2 separate regions of the Homo sapiens genome follow, and region 1 is linked to region 2. Evidence: promoter capture Hi-C in 16 types of primary human blood cells and fetal thymus (Javierre and others, 2016). All regions are on one chromosome and are shown on one strand. The core of a region is centred on a gene start or on the middle of the fragment in contact, and the rest is flanking DNA. Distances in the headings are between cores, read along the strand shown. Region 1 overlaps SLC49A4 (solute carrier family 49 member 4). Region 2 holds the start of SEMA5B (semaphorin 5B).

Region 1 (2,704 bases), core at 190-2,689, 210 kb before region 2:
CACCCCTGCAGGCATTGTCCTCTGTGGGCAGGGGCACTAATCGAGGGCAGTGGGACTCTGCAGCGCACCTGGGGCTGAGCCTGGCTGGGTCCTCTCCTATTCCTGCCACAGGCTAGAAGTCTCAGCAGTGCTGATGCTAGTGGGCAGCACCAGGTCTCCCTCTCTAGTCTCCACCATTCCTGCTCTGCCAATGCAGGAGAAGTTCCCCTCTGATATGGTTTGGCTGTGTCCCCACCCAAATCTCATCTTGAACTGTAGTTCCCATAATCCCCACATGTGGGAGAGACCTGGTGGGAGGTAATTGAATCGGGGGTGGTTACCCCCATGCTGCTGTTCTTGTGATAGTGTGTGAGTGTCGTGAGATCTGATGGTTTTATAAAGGGCATTTCCCCTGCACACACTGTCTTGCCTGCCGCCATGTAAGGCATGCCTTTACTCCTCCTTCGCTTTCCACCATGATTCTGAGGCCTTCCAGCCATGTGGAACTGTGAGTCCATTAAACTTCTTTTTCTTTATAAATTACTCAGTCTCGGGTATGTCTTTATTAGCAGCAGAGAATGGACTAATACACCCTCTCTCATTCACTTTTCCATCTGGCTTGTGGGGATGGGATGAGCCAGGCTTCAGAAGTAGACAGAGGCTAGGTAAGGAGGAAAAAAAGGGAAAAGGAGAAAGACTTCAGAGAAGAGGGAAGAAAAGGGAGTTGGGGGCCGTGGGTTGGGAGGTGGATGGAGAAACAGGAGAGAGTTAAGGAGTCAGTATGAGGAGACTGGGCTGAAGGAGGAGGCACACATCTGCTTCCTGACAGATCTCTCACAGCTTGACCTGCAGAGGTGCAAGAGAAATGCAGTCCATTAACTGTGAGGATACACGTGCTTTCATCAGGTGTGGAGTTTCGGGTAAGGAGGCAAGAGTCAGACCCCTTGAATTAACTAGTCCATTACTGGACAACTGCCTTTCTGCTCCAGAGCTTATTGCCCAGAAGACAAAACTGCCTCCTCACACTCCTAACTTCTGCCCACCCTTCCCAAGTCCACTGTGCTTGAGACAGTTATGTCACATTGGCCTTGCTTTTAAAACACCCTAAAACATCCTTTTTTAAAATGTCACATTGGCCTTGCTTTTAAAGCACCCTAAAACATCTTTTTTTAAAAGCTTTATTTTGAGAATATTAGTCATCTTGTTTTTTGTATTACTGAATTTAAACTTGTTAAAATTTATCAATAGAACTGATCTGATGTATGCATTTGGATAACTTTGTGAAGTTTTGGAAACACAGTTTAGTTGCATATTTCAGTGACTGCATGTCCCTGTACTGGGCCCAGTCTGTGAGTTCCCGAGAGCATCCACACTGCCTTAGCGCTATGGGAGTGAGGCCTGTGGGGACTGCTGCCATGATCCTGACCTACAAGGACCTTAACTTTTACCTAGCAAAACAAAACTGAGGCATGTAATGATGACAAACAATTAATATTAAACTGTGTGGTTGACTTCACTGTACTGAAGATTATGAATCCCCCTCCTTCGTTTTTCTTTGTCGTTTTTAATAGTCAGCCCAGATCAACAGGTACTAGTTTCTGAGAGCCAGCTTCTTTCATAAGTGCTTAGAAAGCATTAGGATAATCGTGAGTCGCATTTTATCTTTTAATGTGTGAAAGTGGAGAGACTTTTTAGTTCAGACTGTTCATTTAAGCTGGATGTTTTTTCTTTTCAGTTCACTTCGCTAAGCTTATATAGCTAATTTTTATTCCTGCATCTGTTTCTTCTAGAAATAGTCTAAATCTAGATTTCGATTTCCTCATGAGTCTGACTTCCATGCTGAACACTCCACTGAAACTGCTTCTACTCAGACCACAAATGACCTCTTCTTTGCTGAATCTGGTGGTTACATTTCAGTTATTATAAACGATCTTTCTGTTTGATGTGATGTTGTTGACCACTTGCTCTTATGTTCTTGGAACTCGTCTCTCTTTAGTTGCCGTGATACCAGTCTTTCCTCTTTTGCTTTTTTTCTGCCTTGTAATGGCTCCTTCTCAATCATCTTGCTCGACTCCCATTCCTCTATTTTTAAAATGTTGTTATTCTCTAGTGTTTCTTCCCCACCCCAATCCACCTACAACTTATATTTCTCAGCTCAGACTGCTTTTCTTAGCTTCTGGCCTATATTAGCCACATGTTAGATGTTTGCACAGAGTTATGGGTGCCCTCCAGTATCCACCCCCTCTCCTTGCCATATATATTGTATCACCTTAACGGTTCTCCAGACCATCCGCCCTCCACCTCCCCACTGTGTTGCCAGTACCACTTTAAACCATGCCATAGAGTCCCTGTCCTGGATTCCATGCCTGAGGGTGTCCCATTCTGGCTTTCTTTCAGCCTTGCCCTTCCATGTGGGTTGAGGATTTCATAGGGCCAAGGGGATGTGCACACCCTGCCCTCTACCCTCTAGTCTTATGCACTAGCTACACAAGACCCCAGAAATAGGCCTTACAACAAGCCTGTTTCCCAGGCCTGCTCTTCCAAGAGTAGGCTGCATCCCTGCTGTGTACTTCCTAGGCCTAAGGGATAGCTAAGGGGCAGCTGTTTGGAGGGGATAGTTGGAGCTTAGATGGAGTTGGACCTTCAGCTCCACATGCATATATGCAAAGCCCTGATATATAGGCCAGGGCCAGAGGTCAGAAGAGAAGAAGGACATGCAGAGACC
Region 2 (2,700 bases), core at 60-2,559:
GGGGGCGGGGAGGAGGGGGCCAGAACGGCGCTGCAGGTGATCCTCCTCCTTGTTTAAAGTTTGCGGTGGGCAAAGGAGTCGGCTCCGTTGGGCCGGGTTTTCTCGAGCCTCGCCTTCTTCCTCCGCCGGTCCGGCGACCACTTCCCTCTTGGCTCCCGCCCCGCGCGGGTCCCCGATCCCCTCTCCCGTCTGCATCCCTCTCTGTGCCCGAGCGCCCCCCGCTCCCTCCCTCCTCGCTGGATCTCCCGCAGGACGTGAGCGGAAAGTGAATGGGCAGCCCCAACCACAAAGACAAATTACCATGAGAAACATAAATCGGGAAATCGCCGCTCGCGTCCCTGCTTCCAGCTGCCGCACCCCTCTCCACCCTCCCAGCCGGGAGTGCGGGGCCCTGAGCCACTGCCCCTGGAGCCTGGTGGGCAGAGTTCACGCTCCGCAGGCCTGGTCAGGGCAAGAGTGTCCTGGAGGCGGGTCTGGGAAGAATCCGGGCGGCGGCTCCGCAGGCGGCGGCGGTGGAGCAGGGACGTCCCTGAGCGGGAGATTTCACACTCTGGGCGGGCCACGCGTTCCCACGCGCCTCGCCGCCCGCACTCTCCCTCAGTGCTGTTTACTAGCCGGCCCTCTCTGAGCCTCCATCTCCGCACCTCTGTCCCTCCGTCCCTCAGCCTCACTCGTCCGTCTCCTTCTCCAGGCCTGGGTCCCGGGTCCCCATCGCCGCTGCAGCCCAGATGCGCCGACCACAGCCCTGGCAGGGCCCAGTGCAACCCGGACCCAAGCTGGCTGGCGGCGGGAACGCAGCAGCGATGAGGGCTCTCAAGCCGAGGTGGCAGCGGGAGGCGCGGAAGCCAGGGGACCCCCTGTCCTCCCGCCCGCAGCCTCACCTACCTGGCTTCAACTTGCCAGAGCCCGGACCCCTACCTCTCTACCCCGATACCCACCCGAGTTGCTGAAGTTTGCAAGTTGCAGCCCCAACCCGCGCAGGGGAAGCGCCCGGGGCTCCCGGGACTCACCTCCCAGAGGCGGGTGCAGGTGCCCGGTTCCCCGCGGCTCCCGACTCCCGGGCGGCGCGGAGCGGCGGGAGCTAACCAGATGGGCTGGCGGCCGGTCTGGGAATGGGGCGGCCGCGCAGGAACGGCCTCCAGCTCTCAGCGCTCCGGTGCAGTCCCCACCCGGGCCCGCGCCCGCTGCGCTCGGGCTCCCAGCAGCCGCTGGATGCGCTGCCGACCCGCCCGGCTCGGCGGAGCTGGGCTCTGGCACCAACCCCCGCGCTCCAACTAGCTCCCGACCCGGCGCTCGGAGAGAGCAGGGAGGAGGAGACCGCGGGAGCAGAAGGAGGGAGGGGGCGGTGGGGGAGGAGTTGCAAGCAAAGGGAGAGAAGGAGGGGAGCGGGAGCGAAAAAGAGGAGGGGGCTGGAGCAGACCTGCCGCGGCGGGCGCTGCACCCGCCAGCCTCGAGGCGCGCGGAGGAGCGCGAGGGGGCGCCCTGCATCCCGCGGCTGCTCGGCCGACTCCCGCCCCGGGCCTGCCGAGTGTGGTGACCAGCCCGGTGGGCCGAAGCCCCTTCCCCGGCCGGCATTCCGGCGGCAAGACCTAGGACTCCGAGCACTTGCCGCCGTTTGCCACATCCCGCCTTGCCGTTCTCGGTCACCCCATCTCGAATGTGACATCCCCGAGGGCCATCGGCGCGGCCTGCCCACCCCAACACTCAGGGCCTGAGGAAGCTCCCCCAAACCCCACTCCGGACTCCCACATTCCCCAGCCCCGTCAGTTCGGAACGATCTTCCTGCCTGTGGATTTGAAGGGGAAGGGACCTCGTGTAAAACGGGGGAGAGCCGTTATAACCTGCAGCGGCAGAGAGGGAGGCTAGGCTGCTGGGCTGGGCTGGAAAGCCAGAACTGGCCGGATTAGGGTTAACCTTGCAAACTGTACGATACCGAGCGAACCTCTCCAAGCCTCAGTTTCCTCAGCTGTAAACTGGGGTTAGTAATACGCACCCTACAGAATTGTGAAGAACGAGTAGGGGATACGGGGAGTAAAATAACATCAGGAACAGTGGGAGGGCAGCCAAGAGATGAGCGATCCGGGGAGGTGGTGGAGCGTTCTCAGCTGAGGACGGAAGGTTTAGCGCAATCACAAGGAGCGAGGCCGAATTGTTTACAAGTTTAAGTGATCTAGTGTTTCTGATGGCTAGAAGGCGGGAGAGAAAGATTCAAGGGGCAAGCTTCAAATCCTAGCTGCCCGGGCTGCAAGAGGGATGGGAAGGGAGCCCTCTGCTGAACAAAAAATATATTTGAAAATGTAAAAAAAGGTGACCTAAGAACGAGTGAGAAAGACAAAGGATTTGAAAAATTAAAACCAGGAAAGTGTGATTCTAAGAGATAACCAAAGAGAACTATGAAATAAAAATAGATAAGTTGGAGGAAGGAAAATATCAAAAGACTTTCTAGAGTATGCCAAAAATTGGATAATTAGAACAAAGTCTGAGTGAAGCATTTTACATAATAAAATTCTGGGTAAAGGAAAACCCAGATAAAGCAGAAGAATTGAGACACTAAGAGCCCCAGAGAAGCACCTCCTGCCTGCCATCCTCCTACCCCTGGACCATGGCAAGAAGCAGTTTGACAGGATAATGGGAAAGAAAGGGTGGTTCTGAATCCAAGAAGGGAGTTTATGAGACACTGTAAAAAGAGAAACAGTGCAA

The links. The method cuts DNA at HindIII sites, captures the fragments that hold promoters and counts their contacts. A CHiCAGO score of 5 or more calls a contact.
Region 1: a contact is called between a fragment that was not itself captured here and the fragment with the promoter of SEMA5B in region 2, in 1 of 17 cell types (M2 macrophages). The highest score is 6.1, in M2 macrophages.

The regions. Positions count from the first base shown.
Region 1 is chr3:122,820,689-122,823,392 of GRCh38, forward strand. All of the region lies in intron 2 of SLC49A4 (solute carrier family 49 member 4), which reads left to right. Among named protein-coding and RNA genes, the nearest start is that of SLC49A4, 27 kb to the left of the region's middle. The HindIII fragment of the contact is 573 bases long and covers 1,154-1,726 here.
Region 2 is chr3:123,026,454-123,029,153 of GRCh38, forward strand. It overlaps SEMA5B (semaphorin 5B), which reads right to left and starts at 1,310. Exons shown (of 23, transcript NM_001031702.4): 1 at 1,011-1,310. RefSeq lists an enhancer at 1,914-2,421. The HindIII fragment of the contact is 2,453 bases long and covers 1-2,218 here.